2 separate regions of the Homo sapiens genome follow, and region 1 is linked to region 2. Evidence: promoter capture Hi-C in human tissues and cell types (Jung and others, 2019). All regions are on one chromosome and are shown on one strand. Each heading gives the region's core, a stretch centred on a gene start or on the middle of the fragment in contact. The rest is flanking DNA. Distances are from core to core; before and after follow the strand shown. Region 1 overlaps ZNF354A (zinc finger protein 354A). Region 2 holds the start of ZNF354C (zinc finger protein 354C).

Evidence for each region. The method cuts DNA at HindIII sites, captures the fragments that hold promoters and counts their contacts. A contact is called where the count stands out against the background at its distance.
Region 1: a contact is called between a fragment that was not itself captured here and the fragment with the promoter of ZNF354C in region 2, in 1 of the 25 tissues and cell types used here (dorsolateral prefrontal cortex).

The regions. Positions count from the first base shown.
Region 1 is chr5:178,709,245-178,712,642 of GRCh38, reverse strand. ZNF354A (zinc finger protein 354A) reads left to right here. Exons shown (of 5, transcript NM_005649.3): 5 at 1-1,131. The coding sequence ends at 583. Among named protein-coding and RNA genes, the nearest start is that of MSANTD5, 13 kb to the right of the region's middle. The HindIII fragment of the contact is 7,128 bases long and covers 1-3,398 here.
Region 2 is chr5:179,058,888-179,062,580 of GRCh38, reverse strand. ZNF354C (zinc finger protein 354C) reads right to left here and starts at 2,208. Exons shown (of 5, transcript NM_014594.3): 1 at 1,915-2,208; 2 at 486-566. The coding sequence starts at 512. RefSeq lists an enhancer at 1,354-1,889. The HindIII fragment of the contact is 19,620 bases long and covers 1-3,693 here.

The DNA.
Region 1 (3,398 bases), core at 552-3,051, 350 kb after region 2:
CAATGAATGTGGGAAAGGCTTTACTTCTATTTCACGACTTAATAGACACCGAATCATTCATACTGGAGAGAAGTTTTATAATTGTAATGAATGTGGTAAAGCCTTAAGCTCCCACTCAACACTTATTATTCACGAGCGAATTCATACTGGAGAAAAACCATGTAAATGTAAAGTATGTGGAAAAGCCTTCAGACAGAGTTCAGCTCTCATTCAACATCAGAGAATGCATACTGGAGAAAGACCCTATAAATGTAACGAGTGTGGGAAAACATTCAGGTGTAACTCATCACTTAGTAATCACCAGAGAATTCATACTGGAGAGAAACCATATCGATGTGAGGAATGTGGGATATCTTTTGGCCAAAGTTCAGCTCTTATTCAGCATCGAAGGATTCATACAGGAGAAAAACCCTTTAAATGTAATACATGTGGAAAAACTTTTAGACAAAGCTCATCACGTATTGCACATCAGAGAATTCATACTGGAGAGAAACCCTATGAATGTAATACATGTGGGAAACTTTTCAACCATAGGTCATCCCTTACTAATCATTATAAAATTCATATCGAAGAGGACCCCTAGAAAGTAGATTTGTATGTGTGAAAGCCTTAAACCAAAGCTCATCGAAGAATACATCCTTGAGAGAGATGTAATAAATGTAATGGATGTGAAAAAAACTGTAATAATTTAGCCCTCATTAGGTATTTAATTCCATGGATAAACCTCAGCTATATAATAGATATGAGGAAAGTGTTTGTGCCTGTCAGACACTTAAAAAAATAACCTGAGATGAAGAATTTACAATTGAAGACATTGACTTTAGCCATTTGTGAAATGGGTTTGCTTTTTCCCTTTTCCTACAGACGTATATGCTAGATGTCACGTGATCATCAGAAACAGATATCCGAGTGGGTGGGGAGGTGTGCTTTAGATTTCTCATTAGAAGACCACCAAACTGGTAATATTTTTATAGCATTTTAATAGCTTGATCAAATTGTACCTTTTTAGAGAAAAGGACCAAAATAAAAGAAAAATGAATTATGAACTACCTCTCAGTCTCTGGGGTTTGTCCTTTTCCTACCCTGATGTCAAACTTATGCATGGATTTCATTAAAAAAGAAAAAGAAAAATCTGGTCTTTTGTTCTAGTAGTTGTGAATTTTCTACTCAACTGTCTTAACTTGGTTTTGGATTTTATTTCTCTGAAGTCATTTATTAGGTGTACCAGTTATATGCCCTGAACTGTATTAGATAGAAAAACAGGCAATAATTTCAGGTTTAAAGCTACTAAATATGTATGTATGTATTTATTATTATTATTTTTATTTTGAGATGGAGTCTCTGTCACCCAGGCTGGAGTGCAATGGTGCGATCTCGGCTCACTGCAACCTCCGCCTCCCAGGTTCAAGCAATTCTCCTGCCTCAGCCTCTCGAGTAGCTGGGATTACAGGCACCTGCCACCACACCCGGCTATTTTGTATTTTTAGTAGAGACAGGGTTTCTCCATGTTGGCCAGGCTGGTCTTGAACTCCTGACCTCAGGTGATCTGCCTGCCACGGCCTCCCAAAGTGCTGGGATTACAGGTGTGAGCCACCGTGCCCGGCCACCCTAAATATGTATTTTTTAAATTTATAACGAACACATCAGAAGAACTTTCGCAAATCTAACACCTGTGGCAAACTCTTGAAAAGGACATTGCTATGGTCTCAATGTTTATGTCTCCCCCAAATCCCTGTGTTCAAATGCTAACCTCCAAGGTGATGGTATCATGAAGTGGGATGTGTGAAGAGGTGATCAGATCAGAAGGGCGGAGCCCTCAGTGCCCTTATCAGAGAGCCCCAAGGGAGCTTGTTCTGCCCTTCAGCCATGTGAAGGCACAGTGGTAAGATACCTTCTTTGAATCAAGATGGCCATAACCAGACACCAAACCTGCTAGCACTTTAAATGGGTTTCCCAGCCTCCAGAACTGTGAGAAATATTTTATTAGTTACCTAGTATGATGAGGTTATTTTGTTACAGCAGCCCAAACAAGACATGTGAATTGTTTCATAAACTTAGTGTAGTGTGACAGATCCCCTACCAGGTTACCTAAGGGTTTATATCCACTACTTGAGCCCTGAAGTCTGGACAGTAAGCAGAGGCCATGGTGCCCAGCTGAGGAGCAAGTGTCCCTGAGAACCCAAACATCCCAGAGTATCTGGGAACACACTAAGCAAACAGTCCAATCACACACGAGGCAAAGAGCCAGAAAACTGGCTTAAAAGCAGCTTAGAGGTGCGAGGTGGTGCAGATCTCCAGAGCTGTCCTGCTGCAGTCCAGGAGAGCCCTGTATGGAAGTCATAATAAACTCATCTGCTCATCAAGCTGGACTTGTCTGAGTCATTCTTTGGTCTCTCGGCTCCTTCCCAGTTTGAGGGGGGACATTACAGTCCTAAGTTTTTCTCAACAGTAAATATTTTTTAACTTTGGAGCAGGTACTATACAAGTTTACAAGTTTTAAAACTGTACAAGTTTTAAGACAGACACAGGCTTTTCTTCAAGAAGCCATGAATTGGGAAGGGGATGGAGTTGGGCTAGCAAATGAGCAAGCAGATTATATTGCAGTTTTTGTTGTTTCAGTAGGCAAATAAGTTATGACAATATGTTCCACTATGAAAATATTGTAAAGATTTGCACAGGATGAAGAAAGAGACTCATGAAGAAAGCCTGGAGACATCAAAGCTTTCCAGGGGCAATGATGCCTGGGCTATATTTGGGGAGAATAGTAGGAACTCCGAGGGAGACAGAAGCATTCCGATTAAGAGGAAACAGCATGCGCCAAACCACAGGTGGATAATAGGACATTTGGAAAACTTAATTTAGAACTAGTGAGCAGGAAAATGACAAATGTTAAAGCTCGAGTAGAAGGCAGAAGCCAAATCACAAAAGGCCTTATTTGCCAAGCTAAGGAGTTTGGATTTTATGGTAAAATCGGTGGAGTCAAAGATGGTAAGCAAGGGAAATTCCATAGAAGATAAGCGTATGGGGTTGAAGAAAGCTGATGACTGATGCCACCCAGGAAATCTGGGCTGTTTAAATTCAAGTAATAGGTAAATGAGGGTTCCAACTCAAACAGGGACAGCATTGATGGAGAACAGGAGACAGATAATCATGTATTAGAATAAATAAGGCATGGTTTTCATAGGCAAATAGGTGAGAGTGGCAAGTGAGGAGAAAGCTGACTCACAGGTAGGGTTGCCAAACGTCCTGTATTTAATGATTTTGTCCTGAATCCTGTATTAACTTTGTTAGGATGCCTTAAATGTATTCAGGGTTTCTCCCCTCATTAATGAAAAATCAGCACTTTGAGCTACGGTTCTGCTTCAGTAATTGGCGCTTAAATCGCTTAAGTGGCAATA
Region 2 (3,693 bases), core at 959-3,458:
TAATCATGTTTCCTAAGATCGATACCACGAACTCCCAGAAGATGGAAATGACAGCTTTCCTCTTTCCATCCCGTGTGCTGCACAGGATCCTGTACATAGGGCTCAATAAATGCTTGTGGAGGCTGTCTTCCGGCCCTTCCACATCTTAGCCCCAAGTGTGACTATATCCTCTATGAAGACAGAGACTGCTTCATGCCCCATTCTCCCCACCCAGCACCAGTGTAGTGGGAAGCATATGCTCAGAACTGCCTCAAATGTGGATCACAGAGTGAGCGGGGTGAATTAAGAGTAGTCTCGGGACAAAAGAGGCACATTCCTCAGCAGCCCCTTGCTAAGCCCAAGACACTGGGAAAAACTTTTGAGGTTCCGGATTCTTCATCGTTTTGGTTGGACCAAAAAGTACCTGGACAAAGTCTGGAAACATGTCTACCATCTCTGAATCCAGAAGCCAACTGATGAAAAAGACAACCTTCACTCACTCTCACCTGAGCAGACAGCAGATCCACAGCCATCCCTTCCTCCTCAGTCTTCCTGCCCAGGGAGAGCAGAGTGTGGACACGGTGGGTCTGCAGAGGAAAAAGGTGTCAAGAGGAACCCTGGCGTCAGGAGATGGCTTGGAGAGAGGAAGTTACAACCGCCCATAATGTCCATCAGGTCTCAAAAAAGCCACCCCCCGTAATGATGTAAAGCAAGAAGAGTGTTTACTAGTTTACTAGGGCAATGTGCCAACCCTACTTCTATTTCTGCACTTGGACTCTTTAACTTCCACCTTCGGGCCTCTCAGCTACCTCTAGGCAAACCGTGACTCCCCCATGGATGTCTGGAGTCCTTCGCTAGCTTTGAACTGCACACCTAAAAGTCGCAATGAATATCCAGTCTCCTGGGGCGCCACTTCCCAGCCTAGCTAGCTGATCCTCATCCTGCCTGCCCTGCCTCACCCTTTCCTCCCTATGGTAGCCACGATAAAGAGGCTTCCCCGCATCCCTACCCTGGTGACAGACCCCACTGCTCGCCCTGAGTGGTCCTTCCGTGGAGTGCTGTGTTCTCCCCAAGAAACTGTGAGCATAATCCAACCACTCAGCTTTCCCAGCCTCTTTACTAGATCTTCGTCGGGCCTTACCACACTTTACCCAAGGTAACAGGATTAAGGCACTGTCCCCACCCAAAGCCAGAGCTTTGCTGTCCCTCCTAATACTCCACAGGTGCCGCCTCTAATGGCACCCACAACCAGAAACAGCCGTCGCTGCCCAAACACCAACCCCAGGTGGGAGAGGTGGAAACCGTGCCCGCCCCACAGAAAGCAAGGGAAGAGGCTGCCTGGGGCAGCCGGGCAAGTGTGAGGGCCTCCAGGCCCGCGATCTGCAGCGGCGACTCAGGGTGCCCCCTAGCATGGAGCCAACCTGGGGCTCTGCCAGGCCAGTTCCAGCGGGTGCCTCGACCAGCCCAGGGGAAGCTGCCACACAAGGCCTCGGTTACGCGACGAAGCGCACCTCCTCCCAGGAAGCGGTGAGTGTTTTCCACGCAGTATTTTCAATCTTCACATTTACAGATGTTACGGAGACTGAAAACCAGGAGGTCGTGACCTGCCCAAAGTCATAAGGGCCGGGAAGGCAATCCTGATCCTAGCCCCAGGCCCCAGTTACATCTGGGGCAATGACCTCGCCACTCTGCCTCGGTCTCCTCCTGACAGAGCGGGAACAGCGTACCGCCACCCTATCTGTTAGCAGGGATGCGCGGAGTTCGTTCGGGCGATGCGCTAGTCTGGTGCCTGGCACCCGAGCGCTCTCGGCGGGCATCAGCTATTGCTTTTATTATTTCCGTTACTCAGAAGAAAATGCACAGAAGAAAATCGCAGAATGAACAACGACAAAAGGCTGGCATCCCCACCCCAGCGGCCCGGCGCACCCAGCTCACCTGGCGAGGCGCTCCCTCCCGCGGGTCTCCGGCAGTCCAGGCCGCTCGCGGACGGCGCCCCGGGACCCAGTGGCCAAGGGGCCCGAGCCGCGTAGGGCTGGTCCCAGAAGCCCAGACGAGGCTGCACGCCGCCCACTCGCTGGAGAGGCCCGGATCCACCCCGGCCCGGAAGAGACCACTGCGAGCGCCTCAACCCCAGGCCGGCAATCCTAGCCAAGCCTGGATGGCCCAAGCCAGGAGAACCCCCGAAAGGCCGCGAGCTGTCCCCGAAACCCCGCCAACCGCGGGAGAACTACCACTCCCGGCATGCCTCCGGCCCCACGCCGACTACACTTCCCAGGGGACGCCGCGGTGCGCGCTGCGAACTCCGGGAGAGGAACCGCCTCCGCCAACGAGAGCTCTCAAAGGCGACAGTGCGCGGAGGGGCTGCAGTGCGAGGGAGTACGCACGCCGCACACGAGGCAGGAGGTCTCCAGCTGCTGGCCGTGCTGCCTACAGCCCGCGCACTTGTTAAGCAAGCGGAGTAGTTTGAAAAAACAAAACCGGAAATTAGATTCATTTAGGAGGATCAGTGTGCTGTAGCTCCCACCGCTGGTTGTGATTACTTTTCTGTTGATACAAAATAATTTACATAATGTATAGGGTCCATGTGAGTGCTTGTTACGTGCATAGACTGTAATGATCATCAAGTCACAGTATTTGGGGTATCCATCACCTTAAGCATTTATCATTTTTATGCGTTGGTATCATTTCAAGCCCTCTCTTCGATTTACTTTGAAATATACACAATATTATTGCCAAGTATAGTCACCCTAGTCTGCTATTAAATATTAGAAATTATTTCTTCCATCTAACTGTATGTTTGTACCCATAACCAACCTCTCTTCATTCCCCTTCCTTTCTGGCCTTCCTGGCCTTTGGTATCTATCCTCCTGTTGTCTATGTCCATGAGATCAAGTGTTTTAACTCCCGAATATAAGTGAGAACATGCAGTACTTGTCTTTCTGTGCCTGGCTTATTTCACTTAACATAATGACCTTCGGCTCCATCCATGTTGCTGTGAATACATTATTTCATTCATTTTTATGGCAGAATAGTATTCCATTGTGTCTATGTATGACATTTTCTTTACCCATTCATCTATTGCTGGTAGGTTGAGTCTATATCTTGGCTACTGCAAATAGTGCAGTGACAAACGTGAGTGCAGGTATCCTTTTCATATACTGATTTCTCTCCCTTTACCAGTAGTAGGGTTGCTGGATTGTATGGTAGTTCCATTTTTAGTTTTTTGAGAAACCTCCACACTGTTTTCCATAGTGGCTGTACTAATTTACATTCCCACCAATAGTGTATAAGAGTTCCCTTTTCCCCAAATCCTCACTGGCATCTGTCATTTTTTTGTCTTTATAATAATAATCATTCTAACTGGAGTGAGCTTATATCTAATTAGAAAGTGTTAGTAACCAAAAGAGCATGATATTTGTATAAAAATAGACACACACACCCCCCCATGGAACAGAATAAGAGAACCCAGAAATCAGTGCACCCATTTACAGCCAACTGATTTTCAACAAAGGTGCCAAGAACACACAATGAGGAAAGGACTACGTCTTTAATAAATGGTTCTGGGGAAAACTGGATAATAATATGCAGAAGAATGAACTTGGACCCCTTCTCTCTCAACATATATAAAAGTCAACTCCAGATAGATTAAAGATTTAAAGACTCCAAACTATAAAACTGATAGAAGGAAACATCGGGACAACTCTTCAGGACATT